Linked DNA regions of Homo sapiens: region 2 is linked to region 1. Evidence: promoter capture Hi-C in human tissues and cell types (Jung and others, 2019). All regions are on one chromosome and are shown on one strand. Each heading gives the region's core, a stretch centred on a gene start or on the middle of the fragment in contact. The rest is flanking DNA. Distances are from core to core; before and after follow the strand shown. Region 1 holds the start of NGDN (neuroguidin). Region 2 holds the start of CIROP (ciliated left-right organizer metallopeptidase).

The links. Contacts are between HindIII fragments. The study calls those that stand out against the background at their distance.
Region 2: a contact is called between a fragment that was not itself captured here and the fragment with the promoter of NGDN in region 1, in 1 of the 25 tissues and cell types used here (spleen).

Annotation. Positions count from the first base shown.
Region 1 is chr14:23,466,698-23,471,548 of GRCh38, forward strand. It overlaps NGDN (neuroguidin), which reads left to right and starts at 3,006. Exons shown (of 11, transcript NM_001042635.2): 1 at 3,006-3,030; 2 at 3,345-3,404; 3 at 4,209-4,280. The coding sequence starts at 3,019. RefSeq lists a silencer at 2,633-2,682 and an enhancer at 2,769-3,709. The HindIII fragment of the contact is 24,550 bases long and covers 1-4,851 here.
Region 2 is chr14:23,100,367-23,105,217 of GRCh38, forward strand. It overlaps CIROP (ciliated left-right organizer metallopeptidase), which reads right to left and starts at 4,623. Exons shown (of 16, transcript NM_001354640.2): 1 at 4,233-4,623; 2 at 4,019-4,103; 3 at 3,877-3,928; 4 at 3,309-3,452; 5 at 3,105-3,182; 6 at 2,921-3,016; 7 at 2,560-2,685; 8 at 2,263-2,347; 9 at 1,978-2,123; 10 at 1,726-1,900; 11 at 1,476-1,545; 12 at 1,303-1,399; 13 at 926-1,198; 14 at 484-713; 1 more. The coding sequence starts at 4,554. C14orf119 (chromosome 14 open reading frame 119) reads left to right here. Exons shown (of 2, transcript NM_017924.4): 2 at 1-90. The HindIII fragment of the contact is 8,875 bases long and covers 1-4,851 here.

The sequences.
Region 1 (4,851 bases), core at 1,756-4,255:
GTAAACCAGAAAGTATCTGAAACAGGTCTCAATCAATTTAGCAGTTTATTTTGCCAAGATTAAGGACGTGTCTGGGAGTGAGGCTTGTGCCTTTCTCCAAAGATGACTTTCAGGGCTTCACTATTAAAAGGGGAAAAGTAGGCTGGAGGAGAAAGAGGGAGGGTACATTAATCCACATGTTGCAAGAGAAAAGGAGCAGGTAGGGGAATAGTCAATTGGTATTTGTCTCAGGCTCAGTAAATCGGCACACAAGATAAGGTGAACACACAGTAAATACTTGTAGAGATATTTAACATTTTATCTGTAGCTATCCGCTTAGGAACAATAGCAAAGGCAGTTGCTTGCATGACTCCGTTGAGCTTAATTTTTTTCTTTTGGCATAGTGAACTGGGGTCCCAAGTTATTTTCCTTTCGCATTCCCTATACCCCAAAGGATTGCTATCTAGAGAGGCTAAGAAAAATCTGAACAGACAGGCCTTGCTGGGATTCCCCCCTCAGTCTAGTTCTGTCAGATCATACTCTTTTTGTCCTATCACATTTCTACACGCTGTCCATTCTTCATCAAACCTAACCATAAAAATGGAATCTTCATTTCTGAAGGCTCCCGTGTCATGTAAAACTTTCAATAAATTCATCAAACTTTTTTCTTGTTAACTTCTTTTGTTATAGGAGTGTCTTCTATGACCCTTATGATGGGTGAGGAAAGGTATCACACTTTTCTGCCCCTATAGTTGACAAGTATTTTATTTTTTTAGAGATGGGGTCTCCCTCTTTCACCTTTTTTTTAGAGATAGGGTCTTGCTCCGTCACCCAGGCTGGAGTGCAGTGGCACGATCATGGCTCACTGCTGCCTTGACATGGGCTCAAGTGATTCTCCTGCCTCAGCCTCCAGAGTAGCTGGGACTACAGGTTCAAGTCACCGTTCCTGGTGGACAATTATTTTAATAATCAAGGCCGGGAGCAGTGGCTCATGCCTGTAATCCCAGCACTTTGGGAGGCCGAGGCAGGTGGATAGTGAGGTCAGGAGTTTGAGACCAGCCTGGCCAACCATGGTTTAGTAGAAACCCCGTCTCTACTAAAAATACAAAAAATGAGCTGGATATGGTGGCGGGTGCCTGTAATCCCAGCTACTCAGGAGGCTGAGGCAGGAGAATCGCTTGAACAGGGAGGCAGAGGTTGCAGTGAGCCAAGATCGCGGCACTGCACTCCAGCTTGGGCAACAGTATGAGACTCCGCTCAAAAAAAAAAAAAAAAAAAAAGGCCGGGCGCGGTGGCTTACGCCTGTAATCCCAGCACTTTGGGAGGCTGAGGCGGGTGGATCATGAGGTCAGGAGATCGAGACCATCCTAGCTAACATGGTGAAACCCTGTCTCTACTAAAAAAAAAAAAAAAAAAAAAAAAATCAGCCGGGCGTGGTGGCAAGTGCCTGTAGTCCCAGCTACTCGGGAGGGCGAGACAGGAGAATCGCTTGAACCCGGGAGGCGGAGGTTGCAGTGAGCCGAGATCGCGCCACTGCACTCCAGCTTGGGCAACAGAGCGAGACTCGGTCTCAAAAAAACCCAAAATATGGCAGTGCAATTTGTTTTCTCATTGCTATCATAAAGCATATGAACAAACTAAATTTCAAATTCCCCGAAAAGGAAAAGTTTATTGCTGATCTAATTAGACAGGTCCGAAAATTTATGTAGAAATAGAAACTTTTCATAATACAAATCTTGATAAAACATTACAAAAGCTACTGGATAATTGACTAAGTATGCTGCAACAGCATCCTGAGCTTCCACAGTGGGCCTGAAGCAGCAAATTAAATGTTAGAGGAGTGGGGACTGAACACCCTCCTGCCTTCTTGAATCCAGCAAGATCTAGATACCAGGATTTCCTTACCTCACCTGCCCAGATACAGGTGTTATTCTTAATTCCAAAAGACAGCTTCAAGTCGGTAAGATCTGATTTCTAGACCCAGCTCTGTTGGACGAGTTGTGAACAAAAAATTATACACTATCATTCACCCTTTCGGTGCTTTATTTCCTAAGGCATGGGATGGGAACAATGAGTATCCGTCCAACCTACTTCACCAGCTTGTGAAAAACCAGAGTGAGAGAACACATCTGAAAGCACTGGGTAATGATGAGGCAGGTTATACTGAAACATGCACTGCCAGAGTTTGAACCAAGTTCTGCTGAAGACCTGTGTGACCGCGGTAAGTCATGTAAATATGAACCGTTCCCCAATTTGTAAAACGTATTCTTTTCATGTCCCCAAACTGGTAGGAGCGAAGAGTGTCGGGGCGTTATTGGAGCCGTTTCTCAGCGCTCCACAGTGCACACCAAGAGGGCAGGTGTCCTCGCACTCGGTTTCTAAACTCTGGCTCTGGGCTTCTCTAGCCTCGCTCTCTTATTTACAGATGAAGAAGGCTCAGAGACCGAGTGACTTGTCCACGGTCACACAAGGAGTAGTGTTACAGAATCGATTCCAGGGCCACCGGGTCTGTAAGGCATTTGGCGCGGTGGCCGTTGGATGAGCAGCCAGCAATGGCGGCTCTGCAATGTCGACACCGCAAAGCCAAGCCAAGGCCCATCACCTAGCGGCCGGTTCACGCACTACAAGAAAAGTGCCGTGAAAAAAGACTCTGGGTGCTGCGGCAGACGGGAGCCAATACGCGCTAAGTTCGCTCTGCTAATTCCTTTTTTCTATTGGTCCTTCCAACTGTCAATCAATTATTTGACTGTCTCTTATTGGCTTGCCGTCAATCATTTTACTCAGTCTACCAATCACACGCTCTTTGCCAAGTGCTTTTTTTCGTCCTGACGACTCTTTCTGAGTCTGACGAATTTAGCCAGTTCCTTTATTCCATTGGCCAGATCAGACTCCTCCTCTCGTTTATCCTGTTGGGGGCGGAAGTGAGAAAGCCCTTATTCGTATTGGCTTAGATTTGCAAGCGGCAGTTGTCTATCAAATCTATCAAGTCGCCCTTAGCGCTCAGGAAGTACGACACCGGAAGGGGTGGGCTTTGCGAAGATGGCGGCGCTGGTGAGTTTGGTGTGGTTTCTTCCTCGCGTAGCTATTGTGGAGTTGTCCTTTGCCTTCAGCGGCTGGAGGCAAACTGTTGGTACCAGGGAAGGGTGGTGATGAAAGTTGCTTCAGGGAGGCGGCCTCCCTAGAGTTACCGTTCCTGTCCGGTAACCCAAGGGGCTGGCTTTAAGGCGAGTCTGTGAACCCGAGTGTGAAGGCCCCGAGTCTGGGTGTCTGACGGAGAGAGGGCAGTTTCCCACCCTAGACGTTCCACTTTCCTATAATCCTGAGGAAAGAATGACTTTTCTTTACGCCTCCTCTCCCTTCTGTAGGGGGTGCTGGAGTCCGACCTGCCAAGTGCCGTGACACTTCTGAAAAATCTCCAGGAGCAAGTGAGTAGTGTCGCCTCTGGAATAAATTAGTCACGGATTGGCTTTGAGTTTGTGTACTTCACCTCAAAACTTTGGTGATTGAGATACGTGAATGCTTCCAAAAACCTTAGAGTAAAATGATGTAATCAAAACCTTTTCACGCCAGAATTCTAAGTAATTGATTCTGCACCCAAGGGAATACAAGAAACTCCAAAAAGAAATTATATGAATAGTTTTCCTTTATTCATATAGCTAAGGAAACCAGTGCTTGGAATGGTAACATGACTTGCCCTTTGGGTGCCCAGGTAATACACACTTATATACAGATGCTTCTCGACTTAACGATGGAGGTTATGGCCTGATAAACCCATTGTAATTCGAAAACCTCATAAGTCGAAATTTAGGCTTGATGCCGCTGCCCAGCATCACGAGAAAAGGACGGTTTCTACCGAATGCATATTTCTTTTACACCCTCGTAAAGTGGAAATTAAGTCATAAGTCGGGGAGTTATGTAGTTCTATGCATTGTAAGTTCAACTAGTACAAACAAAATTACAGTGCTTCAGTCACTACTCTCTCAGTCCTTTTCTCCTCCCTGTGGTTCAGTAAAAGATGGTCTCTTCTTTAAGAAGTGGAAAGTTTTTTTTTTTTTAAACTTTTTGAAGAACCATCTCTCCTATGCTTTCCGAGAAGTGAGAAGATAGTACTATACTTTAGACAGTGTTTCAGATAATTTTTAGGTGGCATTGTTTAGCTTTTGCTCTTCACAGTTTGCAGACATAATTTGATATAATCTAATCACTTGTTTTATTTGGGCTAATTTCAGGTGATGGCTGTAACTGCACAAGTGAAATCACTGACACAAAAAGTTCAAGCTGGTGCCTATCCTACAGAAAAGGTAAGATGTACTCAAACAGTAAGCATCCCCTGACTTAATGTTCTCAGTAGTTCTTTCATTGTATGTTTATTGTGTCTTATATATCCTAAGTGCTCGAGCTTCAAACATAAATATGATCCAGTTTCTGTGCTGAAGTCTAGAGGGAAGACAAAGCAAAGCAATAGATGTAAGTATTAATAGTAGCAGTCACATTACAGAGTTATGAGTCTCCAGCCAAAGAGAGGGATTAATTAACTGCCAGAAGAGCAGAGGGATTCAGGACAGGCTTCCCAGAGGAGGTGATAGGATTTTGAGGAATAAATGGGAGGGACAGAAAGAAGGAACATGTGCAAAGGCACAAAGGCCTGAAAGTATGGTGATAAGGGAAAGGAGTAAGTCATTTTTGTGATAGGATGTACTTTCTGTGTTATGTGTGTTGGGGGTAGGAAATAAGACTGGAAAAGTCACTCTGAAGATTACTGTAGGCCAACTGAGGAGTTACTTTCAGATTTCATCTAATCTAAGACACTTATTAATTGGGACATATCACTTATTGTATATATTAAGAAAAAATGTGACAGGCCGGGCATGG
Region 2 (4,851 bases), core at 929-3,428, 370 kb before region 1:
ATCGTGTTAGGGATCTTTGTTCTCTGAAACGCAACCCTGTCTAGGACAATATACACGTGAGTGAGTGCTTAATAAATTTAATTTCAAACATCCGGACTCCATGGATTTGAAAGGAAAGTACTTGGAATATCTTACTTGCTGGGTTGTGTGGTAAAGTTGGCTCCTCCATGATACACTTCTAGGGGTTTTTTCTGGAGAGTCAGAGTCAGGGCCTTGTGCAGTGTAGCAACTGAAGGCCCTTGGCAGCCAGGGGACTTCCACATATGCACAGTAAACACCAAGCTAGTGGTAATTGATGGGCCATGGAAATAGCACCTAAATGGACATTTGAATCTTTTAATAGAGATATAGTTCCTGGCAGAGTATATCTCATGAAACAGATGCAGGCTTAAGAGTGGGATGAACAAGTCTTCAGAGGAGAGTCATAAAGTAAAGGACTTAGGGATTCTCCTTGGCCCATTGTATAAATACTCAAGCTTTTACCTGCCAGTGCCGCCTTTGCTCGCCAAAGCCTCCAGTACTGCTTCAGCTAGCCCTTCTTGCTGTTCCTTCCCCAGAGAGTGTCCTGGAGGCCCAGCTAATTCTAAAGAGAGCTGGAATAGTGGATCTGGGGTTGAAAGACTCACAGGTGGGGAAGTAACAGCATTGATATCTTCATTAGTCTGACACAGCCGACCCCGGGGACAGAAGAGAAGACCATAGTACCCAGGTATCTGCAAGGAAATAGGTAGCAGGATATGGTTTTGCCTTACCTGTTCAAGTCTTCCTTCTAAGGAAAATGTATATTCTAGATCAGAGTCATGGACTCAGTGGGTACTTAGGAAAACTGTATGCACATCAAAACAGGTTGGACAGTACCACCATACAAGTATTTCCCGACTTCTTTTTGCCAGTATGCTGCAACTACTACTCTTATGGTACCCACCTGTATAACCTTTCCAGGAAGGCATGGGACCCAAGGCGAGCCCTCCACCTGCACCTTGTAAGCTCCCCTCCCTGTGCATTGATGTAAGTAGCAGCGGCCCATGAGCTCTGCTTCCTTGAGGTGTGGGGTAAGAGAAGGATGCCTGGGCTTATCCCCAGGGAGCAGCTGTGAAGTGAGGTTGGCAAAGAAGCAACGGCTCTGGGGATGGTAGATCTCCCCATGGGGATTATCCACCCCAGCAGGGAATCCGTTTTCCTTCTTCCAGCATTCACTCTGAAGGGCAGGTCAGAAGTAGAATAGTGTTTGTTCTGATGCCTTTGAAGTTGACTGCCTTCCAGACCCACTCAGTTTCATTGTCTGCTCTCTTATCTACTCACCCCATTGGCTAAGGGCTTGTACATGCGGCAGCCTTCCAGCATGGGGTCTGAGGAGCAGCTTCCCTTGTCCAGGTGCAGGTAGTGGCAGCCCAGCCCACTGTGTGGAATGGATGGTAGAGTGACACTAGAATCACTGGCAGCCATACAGTCCCCTAACCACTCAGCACACACACCTGCCAGTACAGAAGAAGTCTGAGGAGCCAGTCCCACATGTGGTCACCAAGCCAAATTCTGGGCCAGATCCTGCTTGACAGATGAGAAGGAAAGAGAGCCCTCAGCAAATGAAGCCCAAACATCCTTCAGCACCAGCTATCCTCACAGCTTCGATTATACATCAGCAACAGACACCCCTCCAGCCTCCCACTTCCCCCAGAGCTGACTTGGGTCATGAGTGCCTCTCTGCAGGTCTCCCTTATTCCTCACCCTGGCCCCACAACAGCTCCTCTGCAGCGCTGTGGTTGACCTGGTACCAGCCTGAGTCTTTGAAGGCAGCGAGGGTGATTGGGTCGAGTCGAGTGCGCTGGGCTCCATCAAAGGTAGCAGTCATTAAAGAACCCTGGAGTAGTCTGGCCTCCCAGTGCGAGGACAGAAGGCCCTCCTGGAGGAGGTGGCAGATGGCTGGTTGTTAGCTGGCTACTCCTTTCTTCCATCACCCCAAGGTGTTCTCATTCTCACCTCTTCTTCCAAGGGAACACCCAGGGAAGCCCCCGACACTCCCAAGTGTTTGGCCAGGCTGAGGCTAACAGCTGGGGTGGTGAGAAGCAGTTGTCCCCACTCATCTTGCCTTGTCACTAGTTGCCTTGTAGAACAGTTCTCTCTAACTGCAGAAAGGGAAGAAGGCAGTACGAGGAGAGGAAAACTTAGGAAGGGTGAAGTAAAATTAGAAGGAAGGACGTTATGAGATAGTGAATTTCCTCTGGTTGATGGTGGAAAGTCCTTAACCTCATTCCTCTCATTTACCACTGAATCCTGAGGGGCAGTCTCGCCATTTCTTGAAGAGCTGTCCAGAGAAACCCAAGGCATGGAGCAATTCATGTAATGTGGCCTAAGGACAAATGACAGCCCAGTAAGGGGGCCGAATTTGCAGCAGGATTGACCAAACACTCTATAACCCCTCTGCCCAATCAGCTCTTCCTAGAGTTTGAGGCACCTTCTATTCCATCCTCTGTGGGTTCTTTGACTTAATGGGAAACTGAGTAACCTGGCCCCCTACCCTGCAACCTGTTTGCTTCTCCCTATTCATCATGCAGCAGTCACCATGACGATGTCACTGTGGCTGAGGCTGGGGCTGGTGAGATGTTGGGCACAGTAGACAATGGTACCAGCGAGGGGCCTGTCTTCTGAGTCCAGCTGGCAGCAGGCAGCATAGGCTATGACAGAGGGCTGTGGATGGGCCAGGACAGGGTAGGGCCAGAAAGGAGAAAAATAGGGTAGCACAAGTAGAAGAAGTCCTCTGAAAATGGAGGACCAGGGGACTCTGCAGAACTCTGCAGGAGTGGTATCAAGGGATGGCTGTGGGTGGGGGTAGCCTTTACCCAAACGTTACTAGCATTCCCTAAGTTATCCCAAATAAGCACAACTTAATAAAAACTGCTTTTGGCTGGGCATGGTGGCTCACGCCTGTAATCCTGATACTTTGGGAAGCCAAGGTGGGCAGATTGCTTGAGCCCAAGAGTTTGAGACACAGCCTGGGCAACATGACAAAACCCCGTCTCTACAAAAAAAAATACAAAAAATTAGCCGGACATGGTGGTGCATGCCTGTAATCCTAGCTACTCAGGAGGCTGAGATGGGAGGATCACCTGAGCCCAGGAGGTCAAGGCTGCGGTGAGCTGTGATTGGGCCGCTGTACTCCAGCCTGGGCAACAGAGTGAGACTGTCTGAAAACAAAAGCAAAATAAAACAAAACAAAACAAAACAAAACTGCTTTTATGCTCCCTAACCCTCCTCATGAGATTTAAGATTGAGAGAGACAGCAGGGAAAGGAAATTTGATTTGAACTTCACCTCTTGGTGGCACTTGGAAGTGTGAGCAACTCGCACATACAGGAGAAAATCAGTGTTTTGGACCCCAGGCCCATCTGGCTGGACCAGTTGTGGGGGACCCTGCTCCGGCCACAAGGCATAACCGCGAAGATGGGTGTCAGGAATCTGGCAGGGAGTGAAATGTTGCATTAGCAGAGGGGCTGGAACAGTAGGAAATTGGGTATGAGGAGTAGGGGAGAATGAATCTCTTTGGTCTGTCTTTGTGTTATCTAGGCAGCTGGCTAGAATAGAGTTCTGCCCCTTCACCCCCAGTCTCTGATTTAATAAATTTTAGCAGGGAGAGGAGCTCAAGAATCTACATCGTTAAGCACACTAAGTAACTCTGATGGTGGTGGTCTTGGAATGGTCATGGCAGGCTGCAGATCTCCAGATCCCTGAGACTGAGAGGTGAGCCTGCTCAGGATCCTGTCTTCCGTCCCCTTCTTCCCTGGTGTACTTATTTCTGGTTTTCCTCTCTTTACTATCTCTCTGCGTATCCCCCCACCACCCTTATTTTTTCAAGATTTCAGTGTTGTTGACTCAATCTCACCTTTGCCCCCAGGCAACTCTCTCCTTTGTATCCTGGGTTCAAGAGGCTGCACCTATAAGAATGAAGATCTGTAGGTGAGCTGAGGACATTTCTAGGTATCCCTGAAAAAGAATTACATACATTGTCAACGACGTGAACTCACCTGTGGTAGTTTGGGCTATCTGGGTCTCCCCAGACAGCGTGGCAATACTGTGCAGGGTCTCGACTCAGAAGCAGGGGTCCTTGCACTGGAGGGACTTGATAAGAAGTCAGTTTCTCCCATATCTTGGAATTCCAGTTCTCTTTCTGGGCTGATCTTCCTCCCCTGGACCTCTCTGCTCCTCAACCCTCCCTGACACCTCTGTTCCCTCACTCACCTGCTAGAACAGCCTGGATTCGCTGAGTGGCCTCTCTCACTGCGGCCAGGGCTCGGGATCCCCCTCTCATCCCTTCTCCCTCAGGATCCCAAGCTCCATCTGATATATGATCTCCTAGATAGCAGCTTTGGATTCGTAGGGGTTGAGGATCACGGGAGCTAGGGAGGGTGAGGGAGGAAGAGCGAGATTTTGAGGGGAGTTGGGAGAAAGGGGGCCTGAGAAGGCTCACAGACTTCTGTGTCTCATCATGTAGACATCGGCTTGCAGCAACCCTGAGGACTAGTGGCGGCAGCAGCAGCAGCAGCAGCAGCAGCAGCAGCATCTCCCTTCTGTGTCTCTCCGTAGATACAGCCTGGATCCTGTCTTCCGTCCCCTTGTTCCCTGGCTCACTGTTTCTGGCTTTCCTCTCTTTACTATTTTTCACCTATGCCCCCCACTACTCTTGCTTATTTTTTCAAGATTTGAATGTTGTTGACTCAGTCTACAGTTCCCTGCCAGGAGGTTGGATATGAACCACCCTCTTCCAGAGGTGCCAGAGGCAGAGTGCTGGGGGAGGGGAAGTGTTATTCTGAGGCCTCAGCTGACCTTTCCAAAGAGGAGCCTGCCTTATCCATGATGA